Linked DNA regions of Homo sapiens: regions 1, 3, 4, 5 and 6 are each linked to region 2. The links are contacts of gene promoters, found by promoter capture Hi-C in blood cells and fetal thymus (Javierre and others, 2016). All regions are on one chromosome and are shown on one strand. Each heading gives the region's core, a stretch centred on a gene start or on the middle of the fragment in contact. The rest is flanking DNA. Distances are from core to core; before and after follow the strand shown. Region 1 overlaps PRIM1 (DNA primase subunit 1). Region 2 holds the start of NAB2 (NGFI-A binding protein 2). Region 3 has its middle 4.6 kb from the start of PRIM1. Region 4 overlaps BAZ2A (bromodomain adjacent to zinc finger domain 2A). Region 5 overlaps NACA (nascent polypeptide associated complex subunit alpha). Region 6 has its middle 5.5 kb from the start of ATP5F1B.

Region 1 (3,993 bases), core at 1,466-3,965, 350 kb before region 2:
TGGAGTGCAATGGCGTGATCTTGGCTCACCGCAACCTCCACCTCCTGAGTTCAAGCGATTCTCCTGCCTCTGCCTTCCGAGCAGCTGGGATTACAGGCATGTGCCACCACAGCCGGCTAATTCTGTATTTTTAGGATAGACAGGGTTTCTCCATGTTGGTCAGGCCGGTCTCGAACTCAGGACCTCAGGTGATCAACCCACCTGGGCCTCCCAAAGTGCTGGGATTACAGGTGTGAGCCATCGCGCCTGGCCTGCAGTATCTCTTAGGTGTTAGATTTGCCTTCCATTAGCAGGAAGATTTAGAAATTCCTTAGCTTCTTCAAATTCTTTTTTTTTGTTTGTTTATTTGAGACAGTCTCCCTCTGCCGCCCAGGCTGGAGTGCAGTGGCACAATCTTGGCTCACTGCAACCCCTGCCTCCTGGGTTCAAGCGATTCTCCTGACTCAGCTTCCCGAGTAGCTGGGATTACAGGTGCCCTCCACCATGCCTGGTTGATTTTTGTATATTTAGCAGAGTTGGGGTTTCACCATGTTGGCCAGGCTGGTCTTGAACTCCTGACCTCAAGTGATTTGCCTGCCTCGGCCTCCCAAAGAGCCGGGATTACAGGCGTGAGCCACTGCGCCCAGCCAGCTTCTTCAAATTCTTGAATATACAACTTGGTAAACAGTTTAGACATATGTTTACCATAAAACCCACCTATATGCATCAGAAACAAAGAAAAAAAGTACTGCATATATAATAGTTGTTAAATAAATAGGTGGTGAATCTCAGAGACTGATTATTCATACTTATTGATAGTTTAATCTTACAGTATAGATCCTAGCATTAAAAGTTACTTAGGAAATATGTGTTGAATCAGACTGGATTCAATAACACCACTTGGGCTGCTGTTGAAGAAAGGACACAAACATTGTATGCAGTTCCAGGACAAATGCTGATCCATTCTAGTTGAATCAGAGAATTAATTACTGGAGTGACAGATGGATATCTATATAAAAACCCTGTATTTAAAGTGAAGCTTCAAAATATTACCTTACCTCTGGTTCTATGTTTGACATCAGATTCAGCTTCATTCTCCTCTTTTTCCTCTTCATTAGTGGAAATGGCATCCAATTCACGGCAGATGAAGCTGCAAGTAACAGAACAAGAGAATTTTGTTTTTGTTTTTGTTTTTGAGACGGAGTCTTGCTCTGTTGCCAGGCCGGAGTGTGGTGGTGCGATCTTGGCTCACTGCAACCTCCGCCTCCCAGGTTCAAGTGATTCTTCTGCCTCAGCCTCCCAAGTAGCTGGGACTACAGGCATATGCCACCAAGCGCAGCTAATTTTTGTATTTTTAGTAGAGACAGGGTTTCACCATGTTGGCCAGGATGGTCTCGATCTCTTGACCTTGTGATCCACGCGCTTTGCCCTCCCAAAGTGTTGGGATTACAGGCATGAGCCACCGCGCCTCACCACGAACAAGAGAAGTTTAATGTTGGTTTCTGATCAGCATTATCCAGTGTATAATAGCATGTGAATCCCATAAAATTTACTGTAAAAAAATTATGCGGCCAGCTAAATTTGGGATATTCTAAACACCATGATCTCTTCTTGGAGTTTTTCATGCATATTATCATATGAAAGACTGTGAAATACTGTAGTAAAAGATACTTTTAATCTGTTTAAGTCAGAATTTCCTAAATTTACTTGACCTTAAAATCTTTTTCTTACATAACAGCAGGTGAAAATCTTGTATTGTTCTATTAGGGCATCGTCATCTAACCTTTGAACCTTATTTGGTTTCCATAACCAAATATACCATTCCCATGCAACTACTTCTCTAAGGAGGCTAATTCAATTTATTTAAAATTCATAACAACAATTACAAACAAGGAGTGATCAATGATCTGAAACATACCTTATGGTCGGAACAGTAAATGGATCAAACTGGTCCACTTTCTGCAAATCAATAGGCACAGATATGCGACCTGTAAGACACAAAAGTTATAAACTGATGATTGTGGACTATAAATCATTATAGTCATCTCCTACAGGTTATTTTTGGTTAAAATTTTTATTTAAGGCTTAGACAAAGGGTTAAACTTATCTGTTAAGAAGAGTATTTAGAAATATAAATTACTTTCACATTAGCTGTGCCCTTACTCTTTTTTAGAGTTAATGCCTCACTTTGTCACCCATGCTAGAGTACATACAGTAGCATGGTCATAGCTCACTGCAGGCTTGATGTCCTGGGCTCAAGTGATCCTCCCACCTCAGTTGTCTCCCAAAGTGCTAGGATTATAGACGTGAGCTACTGCTCCTGGCCTGGCCAGTTTTTCAATTTTTGTTGAGTTGGGGTCTCACTATGTTGCCCAGAACTCCTGGCCTCAAACAATCCTCTTGCCTCAGCCTCCTGAGTTGCTGGGATTACAGGTGTGAATGACCATGTCCAGCATGCCTTTTATTTCTCTTTAAAAAACCAGCCAGGTGCAGTGGCTCACGCCTGTAATCCCAGCACTCTGGGAGGCTGAGGAGGGTGGATCACAAGGTCAGGAGTTCAAGACCAGCCTGGCCAAGATGGTGAAACCCCGTCTCTACTAAAAATACAAAAATTAGCTGGGTGTGGTGGCGGGTACCTGTAATCCCAGCTACTTGGGAGGGTGAGGCAGAGAATTGCTTGAACCTGGAAGGCAGAGGCTGCAGTGAGCCAAGATCGCGCCACTGTACTCCAGCCTGGGTGACAGAGTGGGACTCTGTCTCGAAAAAAAAGGAAAGAAAAAAAACAAAAACAAAAACCAATAAGCAAATGTGAAGACTGTTGAGCTATTTCCCAGTTGCTCTTATCCCTACTTTTATTTCTATATTTAGAAATAAAGTATATTTAAATATTCCATATTTAAGTTCAGAACAATCTCAGAGTTAGTGAGTCCTGAAAATAGAACAAAATAGATGAAACTATAATATTTACATTGGCTTGGTTTATTTGAGATCAATACAGATACCCACATGTCAGACACCTTTAAAAAGCATTTAGGAAATAAAATAGAAATTCCTCTACTCTTTTATAATACCCCCCTAGGATACCATATAGAATTTAACACATCTCAAAAGTGACGTAATGAGGCTGGGCGCAGTGGCTCTTGTCTGTAATCCCAGCACTTTGGGAGACTGGGGCAGGTGAATTGCTTGAGCTCAAGAGTTCAAGACCAACCTGGGCAACATGGCAAAACCCTGTCTACAAAATATTAGCTGGCTGTGGTAGCACATGCCTGTAGTACCAGCTACTCAGGAGGGTGAGGCAGAAGGATCGCTTGAGCCGATCGGTGAGCCGAGATTGCACCAGTGCACTCCAGCCTGGGTGACAGAGTGAGACTCTTTCTCGAAAAAAATTTTTTTTTGTTTTTGTCAGTGCTAGGAGTAGAGTTCATTTCATTTCTTTCTTTTTTTCTTTTTTTTGAGACAGGGTCTCACTCTGTTGCCCAGGCTGGAGTGCAGTGGCACCATCACAGCTCACTGCAGCCTCAACTTCCCAGGCTCAAGTGATCCTCCTGCCTCAGCCTCTTGAGTAGCTGGAACTACAGGCATGCACCACCACGTCTAGCTAATTTTTGTATTTTTTGTACAAAGGGTGTTTAGACATGTGGCCTAGGCTGGTGTTAGACTCTGGGGCTCAAGTGATTTGCCCACCTTGCCCTCCTCAAGTGCTGGGATTACAGGAGCAAGCTACCACATACAGTCACACACAATTTTTTTTTTATGACCTTGGATGGGTTACATCTTGGGCCACTGTTTTCTCATCTGTACAATGAGAGCTGTTGTCCTAAGATTTTGATGGTCCTCTCCAAATCTAATATGGAACCTCAGAAACCCAACTGAAAAACAGTTACATAGTAGAAACTCATCTGGTAGCTACTTAACTGACTTAGGTATTGGGTGACAGAGCAATTCTTCTACCTTTAAATCATAGACATTATATATATTCAGACCTAATGCCATGCTTACTAAAGCCAATAG
Region 2 (3,781 bases), core at 878-3,377:
AAACACCCGGTAGTTTCACTCTCACACACGGGTTCGCACCCGGACCCCCGCTGGCTCCCCTAGGGGAGTGGGCAGGCCCCTTCTGCGGAATTTCTCTTCCCTCGTCCCTCTCTGGCCGAGCACCCCCTCTCCCAGGACCCGGGAGCGGAGAGCTCAAAATCGGCTCCTCCCTCCCCCTCTTTCCCGGATCAGGACCGGGACCCGGGCGCCCCGCGCCCAGTAGGTTGCCGCTCACTTGCTCACGCCCTACTCCGCCTCCTCCTTGGGCGGGCGTCTCCCTCCAGATCCTAAGGCTCAGCGCCGCCCCAAGGGGGCCGGGGTGGGAGGGAGGGGGGCGCCTCGAGCAGAGGCTGCGTGGGCGGAGGATGTGCGTCACGGGGAGCGTGGGCTGGGGGAGGGAGGGGGCACGTGGAAACCCGGGGCCAGCGGCTGGCAGCCCGGGATCCAAAATAACCTGAGGTGGGGGGGGAGGGGTCGCCCACACCCCGTACGGGGTCGGGAGCGTCCCCAGGGGAGCCCGTCTAGCCGCACCCTCCAGTTGCGGGGCGGGGGACTGGGAGACGGGACTCTGCTCGTTCCCACCACCCCCACTGTGTTTGGCGCTTAATAGGTTGGAGAAGAGGACCTGAGCAACTGAAATCCTCCCACCAACAACGCGCTCCTTCTCCCCGGACCCCACAAGGCGGAAAGGTCTCCTCGCTAGGCCACATTGTAAAACCAGCCCCGGTCCACGGCCTCCACGCCCCGCCATGCCCCACCCCAGCCCCTCAGAAGTGCGGACAGAGAGGCGGGGCGGGGCTGAGATTCCGGACTAGGGGAAACCTCACCTGTGGCCAGTCCGCTCGCTTTCCCCGGCCCCCACCCCCCCTCCTTTCCCTGGGGCTTAGAGTCTATGGGCCGGGCCCTTAGAGCCCCCGCCTCCCCCAACAGCCCTCCCAGCCGTGGGCGGGAGTGCAATGCGAACCAGATGGGGCTAGGAGAAACCAAAGGGGGAGACGGTGGTGGGTTGCAGAGGCGGGGGCTAAGCTCCTTCAAGGCGCTCCTCCTTCCAGCTCCGCCGCAGGAAGTCACGTCGTAGGCTCCCGACCTCTTACTCATCTTCCACTAGACTCTCGGGCGAGGTCCCTAATAGACGGCCCCAGGAAGGGTATCGTCTTTGTCACACAAAATTCCCAGGCAGGGCCTCATCCTCAGCAAACAGAGGACAAGTGGAGGAATCCCTGCCTGACCTACGCGCTGACAAAAGCCGACGCGTCTAATCAACACGCGCACCTAAGTGGTGGCGTGCAGCATAACCCTCCCATTCCTGTTTCCCAAACTTTCCAGGCTAGCATGGAGGCCTGGGTTTCTGAGAGCGACCCCCTCAGATTATTCCATTGGGGCTGAGGAGGGGCGCGGGGATATCTAGGAGATCCCTGCAGAGCCCCACGCTCTCAGGCCCGCCTTAAGTGCACACTATACGGGAGTCAGATGCACGCACAGGAGAAGCCGCACAGCCCAGCCTTCGCTAACTTTTCCCGGCTCACTGCTAACATTCACACGTCCAGCACCACAAGGCCTGAGTATGGGCAACGGGCGTCCCCGTAGTTGTTTAGGCGCGTGTGCACGTCCGTGCGCTTCTGTGTCTTTGTGTACTTGTGCGTGGTTGTGAAACTCCTCTCTCAGCTCGGAGGGGTGGGGGAGAGAAGGAATGTCGCCGGCGGGGCGCTCACGTGGGTACGTGGGCGCCAAGAGGGCCGGCTGTGCATCCGGCGTGGGCGGCACAGAACGACCTCGCCCCGCCCGCTGGGTCCCCAAGCCCGCCCTGCACAGCCGGGCCTCGGTCACCTCGGTCCCCAATTCGGCGCCCCGGCTCTGAATCCCCGCCCCCGCCTCCTGCTCCACACCCCCTCCCCCCCCGTCTCCGCCTCTCCCAGTCTCTAAGCCGCGGCGTCTCCGCGGCCGAGAGGCCCCAGCGCCCGCCTCCCCGGCCCCCGCCCCCACCCCCGCCCCCGGCTCTGCCCACGCCCTCCGCCCGCCAGCCCGGCAGCCAGCGCAGCTCCGGGCCTCGCTCCCTGTGCGTCCTGCGGGGGCGGAGGCGCGGAGAGGCGGCAAGCGCAGCCGGGGAGGGTGGGGGGGCAGAGGCACAGACAGAGGCGCGGAGGCTCGGAGAGAGAAGACGTGGAGGGAGGGACAGAGCCTGGACAGCGGTGGACACGGCATCGTGCGCGGGGAAGAGGGCAGCACGCAGCAGGCGCCGAGCGCCGGGCACCGAGAAGGGCAGCCCGGGTGATCTCCGGCCGTCCATGCACAGAGCGCCTTCCCCCACAGCCGAGCAGCCGCCGGGCGGAGGGGACAGCGCCCGCCGGACCCTGCAGCCCAGACTCAAGTTAGTGGGCAAAGGGAGGCAGCGGGGAGTGGAGATGGGTGGAGCTGGACTTGGGAATGGGGTCCAGAGGGCGGAGGTCGAGGGGAGGACGTGGGGAAGCAGGACGGGGGTGGGGGGTGGAGACTGATGGAAAAGGGGGTGCGTCTTCGAATTAGGGGGCCCTGGGAGCAGGCAAGCATCTGATGAAGCTGGATATGAAAGAGTAGTACCCAAATCTCCATTCCTGGTTTACTCTGTGGGCTCCATCTGGCCTAAGAGCCCCCTGCAAAGAATGTGGGAGCCTCCAAGCACCAGGGGATGCCCTGGAGCTCGAGCTGGCATCAGTGCGGAAGGTGGGGGGACGCTCAGTTGCCTCAGTCCCTCGTTGGCACGGAGCGCGCGGGCCCCCGGTGCCTTTGAGTTAAAGGAGCATCAGCGGGGGAAAGGGGGGGTGACGAGGGAGGCAGGGAGGCCTTAGGCGTTCCTTCCCATATCTGTCCCTTTATTCACAGAGCGGGGAGGGGAGTTTCAGTGTGCAGCCCCTTCATCAAGAGGCCTTGAGCCGCTCCCCCACTCCACTTGAAGATGCGGGTGGAAAATATGGGAGAGGAGAGTAGGCGGGAGCCCCTGGGCGGTTTTCGCCTACAGACGCTACCACTGTGGGAGTGTGTGTGGGCGGAACGGCCCCGGAGCAGAACAATTGCGCCCCTCCCCCTGCCACGGCCCCTGAGCTGAAGGAAAAGGCTGACCGAGGAAGTGGGGAGTGTCACTGCTAGGAGAGGGGCCACTGAGGAGCACTGGGCAGCCTGGAAGGGTGGAGAGGTTCTGAGGGGAGAGAGGAAGCGTGCGTTAAGAATGCTTAACCAGGCCGGGCGGGCCCGGTGGCTCAGGCCTGTAATCCCAGCACTTTGGGAGGCTGAGGCGGGTGGATCACGAGGTCAGGAATTCGAGCCCAGCCTGACCAACATGGTGAAACCCCGTTTCTACTAAAAATACAAAAATTAGCCGGGCATGGTGGCGGGCGCCTGTAATCTCAGCTACTCAGGAGGCTGAGGCAGGAGAATCGCTTGAACCCGGGAGGCGGAGGTTGCAGTGACAGCGCCACTGCACTCCAGCCTGGGTGACAGAGCGAGACTCCGTCTCAAATAAATAAATAAATAAATAAATAAATAAATGCTTAACCCCTGGGAAAAGCTGAGCGGAGAAGAGTAAGGCACCACCTGGCTCACTGAGTGGGAAAGCCAGGGAAGGTGCCACACCCTCCCTTTTAGCCACCTGGGGCTGTGGCCCCTTCACAGGGAATGAAGCTGGCCAGCAGCGTCCACTGTGGGGGAGACTGGGCTCCTACATTCACTTTAGTATGGGTGACTTCACTTCAGTGTTGAGACTGCTGAGTGTTTAGAGGGGAAGGTGAGGATTGTGTTTTGGGGGAGA
Region 3 (4,316 bases), core at 1,603-4,102, 330 kb before region 2:
CCAGCTCTTTGGGAGGCCAAGGTGGGCAGATCGCTTGAGTCAGGGAGTTCAAGACCAGTTTGGGCAACATGGCAAAACCCTGTCTCTACCAAACCAAACCAAACAAACAAAAAAGCCCAGAAAAATTAACAGGGTGTGGTGGCATGCATCTGTGGCCTCAGCTGCTCAGGAGGCTGAGGTGGGAGGATCACTTGAGTCAGACAGGCAGAGGTTGCAGTGAGCCAGTATCGTGCCATTACACTCCAGCCTGGGTGACAGAGTAACACTCTGTCTCAAATTTAAGGCCGAGTGCAGTGGCTCACGCCTGTAATGCCAGCACTTTGGGAGGCCAAGGTGGGAGGATTGCCTGAGTCCAGGAGTTTGAGACCAGCCTGGGCAACATAGCGAGACCTCATCTCTACAAAAACTACAAAAATTAGCCAGGTGTGGTGGCGCAGGCCTGTGGTGCCAGCTACTTGGGAGGCTGGGGTGGGAGGATCACCTGAGCCCAGGAGGCGGAGGGTGCAGTGAGCCAAGATTAGGGCACTGCACTCCAACCTGGGCAACAGACTGAGACCTGTCTCAAAAAAACAGAACTTTTCCTTCGTATTTACAACTTGGCTAATTGCTTGGTGCAAGGGGCCTAGGTTTTGGTCTGTCTCAGCTTTCAACATTCCTTTCTCACTAAGCTTAATCATTTCTACGTTTTGATTTAAAGTGAGAGATGTGGGGCTCTTTTTGTCACTTGAATACTTAGAGGTCATTGTAGGGTTGTTAATTGGCTTAGTTTCAATATTGTTGTGTCTTAGGGAATAGGGAGGCCTGAGGAGAGGGAGAGAGAGAGGAGAACAGCATATTGGCAGAACAGTCAGAACACACACAACATTTATTGATTAAGTTTGTCTTCTTATATAGGCACAGTTCGTTGCACCCCCAAACAATTACAATAGTACCTCAAAGATCACTGATCACGGATCACCGTAACAGATACAATAATAATGAAAAAGTTTGAAATATTGCAAGGATTACCAAAATGTGACATAGAGACATGAAGCAAACACATGCTGTTGGAAAAATTGCACTAATAGACTCACTGTATGTAGGGTTGCCACAAAGCTTCAATGTGTAAAAAATGCAATATCTTTGGAGCATAATAAAGTGAAGCACAATAAAATGAGGTATTCCTGTATATAGCTTTTGCCATGATGTCAGGTACCATTTTATGAATTTATCCCTCATGAGAACTCTATGCGGTAGTTGCCAACATCATCCCTATTTTCTTTTTCTTTTCTTTTCTTTTTTTTGAGACGGAGTCTTTTTCAGTCGCCCAGGCTGGAGTGCAGTGACGCGATCTTGGCTTACTGCAAGCTCCGTCTCCTGGGTTCACGCTATTCTCCTGCCTCAGTCTCCTGAGTGGCTGGGACTACAGGTGTCCGCCACCACGCCCGGCTAATTTTTTTTGTATTTTTTTAGTAGAGATGGGGTTTCACCATGTTAGCCAGGATGGTCTCGATCTCCTGACCTTGTGATCCACCCGCCTCAGCCTCCCAAAGTGCTGGGATTACAGGCGTGAGCCACCACGCCTAGCCTCTTTTTTTTTTTTTTTTTTTTTTTAACGCTTTTCCTGTTTGGAAGGAAAAAGTGCAGCTCGCTGCCAGCAGTCATTTAATTTTACATAAGCATGCTCTTTGAGGCTGAAACAAATCTGACTGATTTCCAATGTGAAAATAAAATATAAAAACTGTTCTTGGAGTTCTTTCTCTCTCTCTCTCTCTTTCTTTCTTTCTCTTTCTTTTTCTTTCTCTCTCTCTCTCTCTCTTTCTCTCTCTTTCTTTCTTTTGAGGTAGAGTCCCGCTCAGTCGCCCAGGCTGGAATGCAGTGGTGCAATCTCGGCTCACTGCACCCTCTGCCTCCCAGGCTCGAGCCATTCTCCTGCCTCAGCCTCCTGAGTAGCTGGGATTACAGGTGCCTGCCCACATGCCCGGCTAATTTGTGTATTTTTAGTAGAGATGGGGTTTCACCATGTTGGCCAGTCTGGTCTTGAACTCCTGACCTGAGGCGACCCACCCACCTCATCCTCCCAAAGTGCTGGGATTACAGGTGGGAGCCACTGCGCCTGGCCTCTTGGAGTTATTTCTAAACAGAACTAACATTAAAGTCATTGGAATAATTAGAATTGTGGATTAATCAAAGAATGATGTTAACATCATACATAGGAATTCAGCATTTTCTAGGATTTGACAGTTTTAATGATCAGAATTACTGTATTTTGTAAGTGGAAGTACCACTACTGAAAACAGAATGCTGTTAATAGAATGATGTCTTTTGTTTCCAAAGTCAGTAATACTAGAGCAATATGAAAATAATAAAAGCAAGATATTTCACGGCAAAGTTATCTCTGGATAAATGCTGCAGCTACAAGTGCTGCCAGCAAGTATTCTTGGGGCAAATGGGAAAAGGGTTAAATTTTAAATTTATTGTTATTTTTATTTTTTGTAGAGATGGGATCTCACCGTGTTGTCCAGGCTGGTCTCGAACTTCTGGGCTCAAGCAATCAGCCCACCTCGGGTATATTAAGTATATTCAGAGGAACGGGCCAGGCCAGGTGGCTCATGCCTGTAATCCCAGCACTTTGGGAGGCCGAGACAGGCAGATAATGAGGTCAGGAGTTTGAAACAAGCCTGGCCAGCATAGTGAAACCCCATCTCTACTAAAAATACAAAAAAATTACTAGCCGGGCGTGGTGGCATGTGCCTGTAGTCCCAGCTACTCGGGAGGCTGAGGCAGGAGAATCGCTTGAACCAGGGAGTCGGAGGTTGCAGTGAGCTGAGATGGCGCCACTGTACTGCAGACTGGCGACAGAGTGAGACTCCATTTCAAAAAAAAAAAAAAAAAAAAAAAAAGTGCTCTGGCATAGAGGCCTTTATCTCAAATGCCACTGGGAGGCAGTATCACCATTCAGTTTGTTTCCCTTTGTGATTTCATACACATAGGTGCAAACCCCTTTTTTCCTTCAGTCCTTATGCTACCTGGCTCTACCATCGTTTTTAGTCTTTTTTTGTGGTATATCTATCAGCCTCAAGTTTCTTGCCCCATGTTGTTTGCAGACTTCGACACTTGCCTCATTGATTGCCTGTCTAGTTTAAGTCCTATTGTTATTCTGGGTGTTTTTAGCATCTGAAAGGATGATCTATTCTGTAAAGGTATGGTTGATTCAGTCATTCATGAATTCATTCATTTATTCCACAAATAGTTAATGAACATATGTGTTGGGCACTGAGATGAACTGTGGGGAAAATAATTAATGACATTATTTCTGCTTCTGAGAAAGCTATATCATACTAGGGGCAATAGACACAAATAAAAAAGTGTAATGAATGAGCTGGGCATGGTGGCTCATGTCTGTAATCCTAGCATTTTGATAGGCAGAGGCAGGTGGATCACTTGAGCTCAGAAGTTTGAGACCAGCCTGGCCAACATGGCGAAACCCCATCTCTACAAAAAATACAATAATTAGTGTGGCATGGTTGCTCATGCCTGTAGTCCCAGGGAGGCTGAGGTGGATTGCTTGAGCCCAGGAGGTTGAGGCTGCAGTGAGCTGTGATTATGCCACTGTACTCCAGCCTGGTGATAGAGCAAGACCCTGTCCCCCCGCCCCAAAAAAGCGTAATGAAGTATTATAGGTGCATTTTTAACCCAACTGTCTATTTGTTTTGCCATGTTCTTAAGACATGGATAAGATTAGTACAGGGAACACAGGCACAAAAGTATAAATGGCACTTTTGGGAAGCTGCCAATAGTTTCATATGGACAGAGCCCAGACTTCAAGGGAGGGTATAGTGAGAGATGGGGCTAAGAGGTAAGCCATGGTCAGAGCATTGCCTGCCAAGTTAAGGAGTGTGGAAGTAAAAATTATTCATCATCTACTTTATTTGGTTAAAATGAAAATAAACTATTGATCCTATTAATATTTGACAAGAAGCCTTGGGAGTTAAAATCCTGTTGAAGTAAGTAAGTTGCTTGAAAACTTGGAGTACTCCTATGTTAGTTATTTTCCTTGTTAATAAAATAAAGAAGAGAAGATTAGAAAATATGTTACAGGACCAACAGGTTTGTATGCCCACTGCACAGCAACATACCAATACACTGAGACAGTAGGGTTTGCAGCAGAGAAAGAGTTTAATGATTGCAGGGCGGCTGAGCAAGGAGATGAGAGGAGATCTTCAAGTCCATCTCCCTGAGGAGTTCTGGGCTGGGGTTTTTAAGGGGATTGTGGAGAATGAGGGACTGGAAAATTGGGGTCATTGAGTGGTTGGGGTCAAAGGGATGAAGTCGTC
Region 4 (3,715 bases), core at 949-3,448, 480 kb before region 2:
TGAATTCTGAACCTCCATGATAGTAGAAATGGGTAAGGTAAAAGGGTACAACTGAACCAGTATATGATAAGGAGCTAAAAGATGGAAAGAAAGGGCAAGAAAGTCCTCTCCTCTGGGCTAAACACACCTGGGGGCAGCCCAAGGTTTCACTGGTAACAGCAACTCAAGAAAGACCATGGCTGGAAAAGTAGTATTCCCAAGCGCTGGGACTAGGATGCTGGATTCCAAGGAGAAGCTGATTCAGATTCATTCTTCCCAGATAATGTTAGTTACACTCCTGGGAAATCCAGGTATTAGCAATTCATCAACATTTTAGATACCTCATGGAGGGAGCAGAATCCCAAAGTAAGAAATACCACTGTACCTTGGGCCTCCAGTTTCTTTAGGGGGCGGTTGTCTGTCTTGTTCAATAGCTCAGTGATTTTGACCTTAGGTGGCCGACCTCGACCCCGTTTCACCTTGGGGACTTCCTTAGTCTTAGCCTTCTCAGTGTTTCGAGGTCGACCCCGTTTGCCAGTAATTGCCTGAATCCTCGACGGGATCTCCTCTGCTGAGAGCTGCACCCACTGCAAGCCCTAAGGTAGCAAGGGAGACTGTTACAGTAGTAAGGAATCAGTGCAGGCCACGAGGCCCTCGGAACCATTCAATGCCCCAGAACCTTCAAACCCCACGAGAGGAAGCTGCAGCTTGTCCACCAACTCTTCCTCAGGGACAAAAGCATATTTAACCCTTGGGTCTGCACCTCTGGCGTGTCTCTTTCTTCAAAGAAATCTCCAACAGGCATACGGGGACTGAAGCTGAAGTGCTCTCGGCGGACACTGTGTACCACGTTGCGGCTCAGGTACTAAGAGGAAGAAGTAAAGTAACATTAATAAAGTTGGATCCTACCATGTCTTTGGCCAGCAAAGGCATAAGCAGAACAGGCCCAGAGCAGACAATGCCAGCCTGTTGTCACTGAGCCCAAGAACGGAGTCTTGGGCAGTGGAAAGGAGTCCACTGAGCCCAAGAAAGCAGTCCTTTAAAAAAAGCTACATTACCTTGATCACTTCTGGAAATTGCTTCATCCTCTTCCCACAGGGGCCATAATACCAGGTCTCCCCCTGCCATCGGTGGCTGCCCTTCTTGATGCGCACCTCTCTCCGCCACCTGCCAGAGAAGCACATGGGCCCTGCCGCCAGGTCACACCCCTACCCACTCCCATGCCACCTAAGCGCGAAGCCCTCTGAGCAGATGGCCCTCCCCACATTTGTATCTCTAGAACTGCATGCAGATGCAAAAGCACCAAGAGAGATAAGCTTGGCTAGAAGGCTGACTTGAGCTCCAGCAAATACATCAAGGCCCTTAGGAGAAAAGCACTACACCAAACTGCACAAGCTCAGAGAGATCTCCATCCCTCCTTTACAAAATCAGTGAGATAAGCTGCCAGAAACCCCTCCCTGAGCCATTCAGGGCAGTTACTGGATTTCCAGTAAAGAGGATAAAGACCTAAGGGGAATAAAGACAGAAGACAAAGGGCAGGGAGGCAAGCAGAAAAATAAATTTGCTGCTGATTCCATGAAAAGACTCAATATGCCAGGGTTTAGTTAGGAACTCTGTGTTCTGAGCAGAACACAAAGTTAGTCAGAGTTAGTTCTAAGACTAACTCTAATCTTTCTCTCAAAATTTTAAGCAGTACTCAGACTTGGTGACCACAAGTAGCCTTGAGGGGCAGGGGTGGGGAAGATCCAGGAAGGCAGTTATTTCCACAAGGCCCTGGTGTCAGCTAGTTTGTTCATTTTGGTCATGTACTGTTCCTGCCCTTACCTCTCCTAAGAGCATTAAAACAACAAAACCACCTCAATTCATTAGTACTAAGTCACTCCTCATTCATTACTATCCCTTGTCCACAGAAATAGGACAAGCCAGCTGGTTTGGATGTGAGCCCTAGGGTTTGGAAAAGATAATAGCTGGAGCTCCTTGGGCAAAATTGAGTCACTACAAGATGAAAAAAGAATAGGTGATGGAAGACAGACCTTGAGAGAAGAAGGAAAACCTAGGAATCTCATGCCAAGAAACATTATCACTGCAGATAACTGTCCTGTAATCTACTCTTGTCTGGCCCATTCCTCCCCCACCTCAGAGGAAAAGAGGCATTCCCTTCTTTCTAGAGTTGTGCATTAAACTTGTCAAGGTCAATAAATGTAGCAAACTAGAGCATTTACCCATGTTGGAGGGGAAGACGAACTTCTTCTGGGGTAGCAATACGTCTCCTCATGACATCACCTTGGGAGGAAGGGATACCCAAGTTAAGAGTTCAAGCAAAATATTTAAACAATAGGCCAATAGGGAAAGGCTAACTACAACATGGGACAGAAAAGTTTCTTGGAACCAGACAGGGATAGAATAGAATCTGGATACTCACCACTACCAGAAGCAGTGAGTCCTTCTCCAGTGATCTCTTCCACGTCAGCAGTGGTTTCTAGAAAGCTGCTGACATCCTTATTTGCTGGGGAGGCTGTTGGAAAGGCAGCTGCTGGGGAAGTTACGGGAGAGGCTTTTGGGGATGTCACTGAAGCCGTCAACGGGACTTCTAAGGAGACTGCTGGGAGGACTGCTGAGGAAGCTGGAGAGACCACTGAGAAGACTGCTGGAGAGACAACTGTAGAAGCTGCGGGACAAACTTCTGGAGAGATTTCTGGGGAGGCTGCTGGAGAAACCACTAGGGAGACTGCTGGGGAGGTTGTTGGCGAGACTGCTGGTGAGGTTGCTGGATGTAGCTGAATAGTGGATGACTGATCAGGAGCTGGCTGGGTCAGGGATGGTGGGAAGTCTGAAGATTGAGTTTCCATTTCTTCCTGTTCAGCGTCACTACCATTATTCAGGTCAAAGCTGTTATCTAGAATCCAAAGGGACAGGATAGGCTTTAAAAAAAAAAAAGGCATCACATAAAACAAGAGAATCTACTCAGTCAACCCTGGACCAAGCTAAACAGGGTTACTTCAAGGGGTCTTCCCTAGGGTTGGAAAAAGAAGTAGCTTTTTCTCCCAACCAATCATGAGGATTAAAGGGTAAAGTTGCTACAGATGTCATTGTGTGAAGAAATACCTTTTACCTGGTGCCAATAAAGCTTCTAGCCTCCTTCTCCCTACAAATTCCAAGTCTCACAAGTTCTTCAAAGCAGAGGGCACAGGTCGGAGTATAGCAGCCTATACCTCTTTTAGTTCCACCATACACTATCCCATAGCCCCTCAGCTCCCAGCAAGGTGCTCTTGCTTTCCTACTTTTTTTTTGAGATGGAGTCTTGCTCTGTTGCCCAGGTTGGAGTGCAACGACACAATCTCGGCTCACTGCAACCTCTGCCTCCTGGGGCCAAGCGATTCTCCTGCCTCAGCCTCCCAGGTAGCTGGGATTACAGGCATGTGCCAACACACCTGGCTAATTTTTGTATTTTTAGTAGAGGCGGGGTTTCACCATGTTGGCCAGGTGGTCTCAAACTCCTGATCTCAGGTGATCCACCCGCCTCGGCCTCCCGAAGTGCTGAGATTACAGGCGTGAGCCACTGCGCCCAGCCAGATTTCCCACTCTTAAGGCCCTAACTATGAAACTTATTCTCTCATCTTTTCTCAGGTAAAGGTCTTTCTTTGTCCTACCTACCGTCACTTACCTTGCAGGACAGACTCCCCTAGGACAGGTGGAGAGGTGGGACTGGCAAAGATAGAGGTTGATGTTTGACTAT
Region 5 (3,811 bases), core at 636-3,135, 370 kb before region 2:
CTGGAGGAGTCCCAGCTGGGGGAAGAGAGGGTGAGGGCACAGACTTTGGGATTTCAGGGGCCAGCACTAAGGTAGCCAGAGGAGCACAGGTATTCTGGGGGGATGGAGCCACAGGGCAATTTTCTGAAGCTGTAGGAACCAAGGGTAAAGTAGTAAGAGTACCTTCCTTAACTGGGTGGTTTTTAGGAGCTAAAGAGACAGTTCCTTCTAGAAAAGGGCTGGCTGTAGTTGTATAAGTTGAGGTACCTTTGGCAGTTGTGGGAGCCACCCCGGCAGGGTCAGCACTTTCCAAAGGAAATGCAGCCACTGTTGGGGTAATGAGAGAACTTTTGAGAAGCGGACCAGCAGAGTCTGGGCCTGCATAAGAATCTGTCTTGATTACAGAGGCCGAGGAGTTAACACCCAGAGGGGAGGTCATACTGCTGGCTGGCTTACCTATAGGGAGAGGCTCCCCAAGGCTTTTCTTTGCTAGGGTGGCTTCAGGAGAAAGAGGTATCTCTGGAGAAGAGGATGTACTTTGGAAAGAAGGGGAATTTTTAGGGGCTGCCTGGACTAACGGTAATACAGTAGGGTCTTTCTTGGTGGTGAGTCCTGCTTGGGCTGGAGAGAAAGGGGCTCCTTCAAGAGAGGCAGGTACAGTTTGGAGGTCTTTTTGTGTTGGAAATTTAACCAATACTGAACTGGGGAGATTTTTGAGGTCTTCAGGGTCTGGCAGAGGAGGAGAGACTGGTATCCTCAGAGTGGTTGCTACTTGAGTAGAAGGCTCTTTGGGAGCCACAGGTGCCATAACCAAGGCAGCAGGGGAAGTTGGTTCTATGTTACTTATGGGACCTGATGACATTGGAGGAGAAACACAAGTAGCTACCTCAAAGGTAGTAGTAGGTGCTGCAGCAATTGTACAGGGGTTAGTCACCACAAGTGGGGTGGTTCCAACAGAAGAAACGGGCATTTGGGCCACTAAAGGATAATGATAAGTGGCATTAGGAGAGCTTTTGAGAATGAGAGAGGTTGTAGGAGATAATGAAAAAGAGGTAGCTACATTTAAGGAGCCAGAAGGGCTGCAGGTTATGCTAGAGATGGTAGAGGGACCTTTGTCAACAGATGGAGCCACCACTGGAAAGGCAGCCACAGTAGCAGGAACTACCTCATTTCTGGAAGGAAGGGGAGGAATTACAGATCTCTGAGAAGGATAAGAGGCCCCTGTGGAAGAATGATCTACAGAAATGGTCTTCACTGTAGGGTCTGACAAAGCACTAGGACCTGTTTGACCTAAAAGTTGGACAGAACCAAAAGAACTCTGATGTAAAGGTGCAAGATGAGAGCCCAGAGAAATGGGAAAATCTGGGGGGGTGTTGGGACCCGCAGTCTTTTGAGAAGAGGTCACCACAGGAAGAGACTGAGTTGAAAGAGATAAGGCAGCAGGTGGACTAACAGGCCCCTTCAGGCTGAGGCTTCCTGGGTTTTGTGGAGAAATCAGAACTGAGGAAATGGTGGTATCTTTGACTTGAGGGGAAGCGATGGCTAGGGTAGTTGTGGGTGTTGTCTGAGGAAGGGAGGCCACTCCAGATTGAATAGAGGCCATGGGAGTCACACAGTGGTAAGGAACAGTACTGACTATACATGGAGGGCTGGGGGTGCCTTTTGGATTAGGGACTACCTCAGAGGGAACTTTATTAAGATTAGTCTTTGGTTCTGAGGGAGCAATGGGAGCTGACAGAGTTATCACTGACCCTGACTCAGCTACAGCCACTGAAGGAGGTGAAGTAAGAAGGTTAGGTGGAAAAGCAGAACTCTTCTGAACTGAGTGGGGAGCCAGGGCAACCAGAGCTAAGGGAGCTGAAGAGGAAGGGGTCCCTTTCAGAGTTGGAGCTATCATGGGAGAGGCTAGAGCTAAGGCAGCTGGGGAGATGGGAGGCCCTATTAGGTTTGGTAGGAAGGTTGGGGCTTCAGGGGCAGTTCCCAAAGGTAGGGCTGTTCCAGAGGATGACTGGGGAAAAGGAACTTCTAAAGGGGTCGAGGCAATAGTAGAGGGGGAAGGGAATGGGGAAGCCTGGTTAGCAGCTGAGAGAGGGCACTGTTGTGGGGCAGGAGAGCAAGGAGGGGGGAGGGTAGGTCCAGGCTGCCCTAAGGCAGCAGTGACACTCAAGGCTGAAGACATAGGTAGCACAGCTGGAGAAAGGCAAAAGGAGATAAAGAAAGGGGGAGGGGGAGGAGAAAAAAGGTGAGTTATGCAGCCCAACTTGGTACAACATGCCTCCTAGGAAACACTGGAGTTTAAAATCTGACAGTCTAAGTCACCACGCAGGATTAGATAAAGGTGACAGGCAACAACAACCTTCCCCAAACATTTTTCAGTGGTCAAGTGAGAAGACATTCCCCTCCTAATTTCTCACACTTCCCCAAGTTCTACCAAAGTAAACCAACTATTTTAGGGTGAGGAGAACAGTCTAAGAGCAGCCTATCTCTAAATGGGGAGCACAGACTCTTGGTAGGTTGAGAACAACATGCTTTCTATCCTTTCCCAGTTGTGCCCTCCCCTTACTTCTTGAAATGGACTGTATTCCCAAGTCTTTCTCACAGCCAACAGAATTCCCACGAGAAGAACAGCTGTGCTACTCTGTCCACCCAAATATCATGAACAGAAAAGATACTGAAAACTGGAACAAAGAAGTTAGTGAGCAGTGACGATGATGGGGAATCTGAACTGAATAAGAAAACACAGGCTTTTATACTTTCAGGCTTCCACTAGGCTAGGAAACATCTGACTCTGTTAGAATAGTTTTGGGAAGGAGGTGCACAGCACAATTCAGTTCTTCCTAAAGTTGAAACACTTCAGAATTTAATATCAAGTATTAAAGTCACTTAGCTTCTTTATACCTTACCAGTTTACTTACTCACAAAACCCAAACAAGAAAACCAACCACAAAAGGACTGTAATAGTCTCTATAAACCTTCCTAGGTGATGTTAATTCTTCAGACATCAATCCAAGATGAATTAGACATGAATTAGACCTCCAGGCAGAGAGCTTACTCACAAGGGTAGGGACTGTATTATGAAACTGTAACCTAACTTGTTAAACCAGATTGTGGTGCTATTTTGGAAGAAGAGAATTGGAGAGCCTGTAACAGTGGCTCATGCCTGTAATCCCAGCACTTCGGGATGCCTGGGAGGGCGGATCACGAGGTCAGGAGTTCCAGACCGACCTGACCAACATGGTGAAACCCCGTCTCTACTAAAAATACAAAAATTAGCTGGGCGTGGTGGTGTACACCTGTAATACCAGCTACTCAGGAGGCAGAGGCAGGAGAATGGCTTGAACCCAGGAGGTGGAGGTTGCAGTGAGCCAAGATCGCGCTACTGCATGCACTCCAGCCTGGGTGACAGGGTGAGACTCCGTCTCAAAACAAAACAAACCAAAGAAGACAATTGGAGTGGCGAGAATACACTGGATCCCCACTCCTTAACTTGGAATTTAAGTGTTTCATTATGTCAAAATACACCAATGTTTGGCATGACAGTAAGACAGTATCTCTGGCATTCAGGAGGTAACACAGAATTGGATCAACAAATGCTCAATGCTTAGAAGGGAATGTTAAGGGGGGCGGGGGGGAAGCCCGTGGTACCAAAATTCAAATTCAAAATTCACTCAACCAGTAATTCTGAAGTTCTTATGGCATCCTACCATGGAAAAGACAAGGTGGCTCAACTAGTTTTTCCTGGAGAGTGGGTAGGCCAAAGTCTAACGATTACAGGAAAACGCTACCAAACATAATGAATCAGAATTAAAAACATGGAATATGTTTTCTTCTG
Region 6 (4,189 bases), core at 1,640-4,139, 440 kb before region 2:
GTGAAGAAGCTCCAAGACTTCCTCCCTCTCCCAACCTTTCCAGCAAGACTTAATCTGATTTGAGAACTTTGGTTTTGTATCATCAATTTGGGTCTTGGCAAAATTAGAGTATTATTAACCATTAAACACATTACTCTGTCATTTTTTTCTTTTTTTTGAGATGCAGTATCAATCTTGTTGCCCAGGCTGGAGTGCAATGGTGCTATCTCGGCTCGCTGCAACCTATGCTTCCCAGGTTCAAGTGATTCTCCTGCCTCAGCCTCCCAAGTAGCTGGGACTACAGGTGCGCACCACCATGCCTGGCTAATTTTTTTGTATTTTTACTAGAGACAGGGTTTCACTATGTTGGCCAGGCTGGTCTCGAACTCCTGAACTCAGGTGATCCGCCCACCTGGAACTCCCAAAGTATTGGGATTACAGACGTGTGTCACTGCCCCCTGCCTACTCTGACATTTCTTTTTTTTTGAGACAGAGTCTTGCTCTGTCACCCAGGCTGGAGTACGGTGGCACAAACTCGGCTCACTGCAACCTCCGCCTCCCAGGTTCAAGCAATTCTCCTGCCTCAGCCTCCTGAGTAGCTGGGATTACAAGCGCACACCACCACACCTGGCTAATATTTTGTATTTTTAGGAGAGATGGGGTTTCACCATGTTGGCCAGGCTGGTCTTGAACTCCTGACCTCGTGATCCACCCACCTCGGCCTCCCAAAGTGCTGGGATTACAGGCATGAGCCATTGCTCCTGGCCTACTTTGACATTTCTTTTTTTTTTTTTTGAGTCAGAGTCTCGCTCTGTTGCCCAGGCTGGAGTGCAGTGGCATGATCTCGGCTCACTGCAAGCTCTGCCTTGCGGGTTCATGCCATTTTCCTGCCTCAGCCTCCTGAGTAGCTGGGACTACAGGCGCCTGCCACCACACACCCAGCTAATTTTTTTTTTGTATTTTTAGTAGAGACGAGGTTTCACCATATTAGCCACGATGGTCTCGATCTCCTGACCTCGTGATCCGCCCGCCTAGGCCTCCCAAAGTGCTGGGATTACAGGCGTGAGCCACCGCGCCTGGTGACATTTCTTAATCCAAGTTTCTAAGAAAAACATTCATACCAGGTAACCGAAGATCATCACTTTTTGAAATGTATCACACATTTGTCCTCTTATCAAATTACCAAGTAATTTAACTTTTCTTGGGTATTAGGGTTATTCATTCAACAAACCTTTTTATCACATTGCAATGCTAAATGCTTTCAGTGTTAATGAGGTGGGGCTCCATGGCTCACGCCTGTAATCTCAGCACTTTGGGACCCCAAGATGGGAGGATTCCTTGAGCCCAGGAGTTTGAGACCAACCTGAGCAATGTAGGGAGACCCCGTCTCTATTAAAAAAAAAAAAAAAAAAAAAAAGGGCCGGGCATGGTGGCTCACGCCTGTAATCCCAGCACTTTGGGAGGCAAAGGCAGGTGGGTCATGAGGTCAGGAGATTGAGACCATCCTGGCTTACGCGGTGAAACCCCGTCTCTACTAAAAATACAAAAAATTAGCCAGGTGTGGTGGTGGGCGCCTGTAATCCCAGCTACTCGGGAGGCTGAGGCAGGAGAATGGCGTGAACCCTGGAGGCGGAGCTTGCTGTGAGCCAAGATCACGCCACTGCACTCCAGCCTGGGCGACAGAGGGAGACTCCATCTCAAAAAAAAAAAAGTTAAAAGTAAAAAAGAGCTATTTCTCCATGAGACCATTAAGCTGAAGTTTGTGAACTCTTAATTTTTCTCACTCTGTTGCTATCAATGTTGGCCTTTAACAACCTCCTCTCCCTCTCCTCTGAAATCAGTTAAATTTATTAATATAAGTAATAATGTCTAAAATAGAATAAGCTTGATTAGCTCAGATTGAGATATGCCTTAACCAGCATTCTGAATAAATAATGTAATCTATTTTAGAGTTGTAACATGTTTTTGTCCTACATATTTTTTTTTGAGATGGAGTCTTGCTATGTTGCCCGGGCTGGAGTGCAGTGGCACGATCTCAGCTCACTGCAAGCTCCGCCTCCGGGTTCACGCCATTCTCCTGCCTCAGCCTCCCGAGTCGCTGGGACTACAGGCACCCGCCACCACGCCCGGCTAATTTTTTTGTATTTTTTTTAGTAGAGACAGGGTTTCACTGTGTTAGCCAGGATGGTCTCGATCTCCTGACCTCGTGATCCGCCCATGTCGGCCTCCCAAAGTGCTGGGATTACAGGCGTGAGCCACGGCGGCCGGCCTTTCCTACGTATTTCTTGATTGAGACCCAGATTGTCCAAGTGATATTTTATATAAAGTACAAGTCGGGGTGGCTGGCCGGGCGGGGGCTGCCCCCCACCTCCCTCCCGGACGGGGCGGCTGGCTGGGCGGGGGCTGCCCCCCACCTCCCTCCCAGACGGGGCGGCTGCCAGGTGGAGACGCTCCTCATTTCCCAGACGGGGCAGCTGCCGGGCGGAGGGGCTCCTCACTTCTTAGACGGGGCGGCCGGGCAGAGACGCTCCTCACCTCCCAGACGGGGTGGCGGTCAGGCAGAGACACTCCTCAGTTCCCAGACGGGGTCGTGGCCGGGCGGAGGCGCTCCTCACATCCCAGACGGGGCGGCGGGGCAGAGGCGCTCCCCACATCTCAGACGATGGGCGGCCAGGCAGAGACGCTCGTCACTTCCCAGATGGGATGGCGGCCGGGAAGAGGCGCTCCTCACTTCCCAGGCTGGGCGGCAGGGCAGAGGGGCTCCTCGCATCCCAGATGATGGGCGGCCAGGCAGAGACGCTCCTCGCTTCCCAGATGGGGTGGCAGCCGGGCAGAGGCTGCAATCTCGGCACTTTGGGAGGCCAGGGCAGGAGGCTGGGAGGTGGAGGCTGTAGCGAGCCCAGATCATGCCACTGCACTCCAGCAAAGACCAGTCAGGCGTGGCGGCACGCGCCTGCAGTCCCGGGCGATCGGCAGGCTGAGGCAGGAGAGTCGGGCAGGGAGGTTGCAGTGAGCCGAGATGGCGGCAGTGCAGTCCAACCTCGGCTCGGCTTCAGAGGGAGACCATGGAGAGAGGGAAGGGGAGGGGGAGGGGGAGGGGGAGGGGAGGGGGAGGGGAGGGGGAGAGGGAGAGGGAGAGGGACGGAACCTGAAGTTCTAGAGTGATGCAGGAGTTACCCCTGCAAGGATGGTTATGTAAAAATGTCAAAAATAAATGGAACCTGAATGGAAAAAAAAAAAAAAAGTACAAGTTATTTTTCACAGGGGAATAGGAACCACACAGACCCACCCAATCTGGTTTCTTATCTGAAGTTAATTCCAAATGACTGTGCTCTGTAATTTAAAATTCATCTTGAAGTGAAAATTACATTTTCCACCAAATCCTTTCATTACTGCTATCCACATTGGTCATACCCCCACATCCTTCCAGTACTCTGGTAATTGGTGGAATGTGTTTTTTTGGTCTCTACTACATTTCTTGACAATCATCCCGGATTATTTCAAATTCCACGAAAAGAACCCATTCAATGCCCTGGCTTCAGAGATCCTCAACCACTTCAATTCCAATTAGTTTTTCACATTCCCATTTCACATAAGCAGCCTACTTCCACAGCCATTCCCAAGTTGAAATATTCTCTTTCAGAAATCCAATATTCCTTTCTTAGGTCACAATTTGGAAGCACTATTTATTACACAAGTAACATATGAACATATTCTAGGTGTACAGGATGAGTTCTTTCACCATTACTTCCAAAACTTCCACTGTCCTTCCCAAAAATGACCATTGAAAAAACTTTTTGCATACATTCCACTCACTTTCTGTTTCATATACATATAATGCAGGGTTCCCCAGTGCCTGGGCCACAGACCAGTACCCGTCCATGGCCTGTTAGGAACCAGGCCACACAGCAGGAGGAGAGTTGTGGTCGAGTGACCAAAGCTTCATCTGTATTTACAGCTTCTCCCCACTGCTCACGTTACCACCTGAATTCTGCCTCCTGTCAGATCAGTGATGGCATTAGATTCTCATAAAAATGGAAACCCTATTGTTGCGGGAAGTCAGGGACCCCAAACGGAGGGACCGGCTGAAGCCACAGCAGAACATAAATTGTGAAGATTTCATGGACATTTATTAGTTCCCCAAATTAATACTTTTATAATTTCTTACGCCTGTTTTTACTGCAATCTCTGAACAGAAATTGTGAAGATT

Evidence for each region. Contacts are between HindIII fragments. The CHiCAGO score rates a contact against its expected background, and 5 or more counts as called.
Region 1: a fragment that was not itself captured here is called in contact with the fragment with the promoter of NAB2 in region 2 in 1 of 17 cell types (endothelial precursors); the score reaches 5.1 in endothelial precursors.
Region 3: a contact is called between a fragment that was not itself captured here and the fragment with the promoter of NAB2 in region 2, in 11 of 17 cell types (erythroblasts, total CD4 T cells, naive B cells and 8 more). The highest score is 9.5, in erythroblasts.
Region 4: a contact is called between a fragment that was not itself captured here and the fragment with the promoter of NAB2 in region 2, in 1 of 17 cell types (monocytes). The highest score is 5.1, in monocytes.
Region 5: a contact is called between a fragment that was not itself captured here and the fragment with the promoter of NAB2 in region 2, in 2 of 17 cell types (erythroblasts and M0 macrophages). The highest score is 7.7, in erythroblasts.
Region 6: a contact is called between a fragment that was not itself captured here and the fragment with the promoter of NAB2 in region 2, in 1 of 17 cell types (M0 macrophages). The highest score is 5.4, in M0 macrophages.

Annotation. Positions count from the first base shown.
Region 1 is chr12:56,737,397-56,741,389 of GRCh38, forward strand. PRIM1 (DNA primase subunit 1) reads right to left here. Exons shown (of 13, transcript NM_000946.3): 10 at 1,898-1,967; 11 at 1,038-1,129. Among named protein-coding and RNA genes, the nearest start is that of PRIM1, 13 kb to the right of the region's middle. The HindIII fragment of the contact is 3,398 bases long and covers 1,017-3,993 here.
Region 2 is chr12:57,086,987-57,090,767 of GRCh38, forward strand. It overlaps NAB2 (NGFI-A binding protein 2), which reads left to right and starts at 2,128. Exons shown (of 7, transcript NM_005967.4): 1 at 2,128-2,368. The coding sequence starts at 2,286. It also overlaps a transcript of NEMP1 not described here. RefSeq lists silencers at 330-479, 660-719, 1,720-2,339 and an enhancer at 1,400-1,449. The HindIII fragment of the contact is 12,439 bases long and covers 1-3,781 here.
Region 3 is chr12:56,754,763-56,759,078 of GRCh38, forward strand. No RefSeq gene overlaps it. Among named protein-coding and RNA genes, the nearest start is that of PRIM1, 4.6 kb to the left of the region's middle. The HindIII fragment of the contact is 3,519 bases long and covers 1,094-4,316 here.
Region 4 is chr12:56,609,372-56,613,086 of GRCh38, forward strand. BAZ2A (bromodomain adjacent to zinc finger domain 2A) reads right to left here. Exons shown (of 29, transcript NM_001300905.2): 5 at 3,644-3,715; 6 at 2,402-2,875; 7 at 2,202-2,262; 8 at 1,038-1,146; 9 at 743-844; 10 at 365-575. Among named protein-coding and RNA genes, the nearest start is that of BAZ2A, 19 kb to the right of the region's middle. The HindIII fragment of the contact is 1,811 bases long and covers 1,294-3,104 here.
Region 5 is chr12:56,719,291-56,723,101 of GRCh38, forward strand. NACA (nascent polypeptide associated complex subunit alpha) reads right to left here. Exons shown (of 9, transcript NM_001365896.1): 3 at 1-2,169. Among named protein-coding and RNA genes, the nearest start is that of NACA, 4.1 kb to the right of the region's middle. RefSeq lists an enhancer at 1,526-1,645. The HindIII fragment of the contact is 4,291 bases long and covers 1-3,811 here.
Region 6 is chr12:56,649,380-56,653,568 of GRCh38, forward strand. No RefSeq gene overlaps it. Among named protein-coding and RNA genes, the nearest start is that of ATP5F1B, 5.5 kb to the left of the region's middle. The HindIII fragment of the contact is 2,056 bases long and covers 1,862-3,917 here.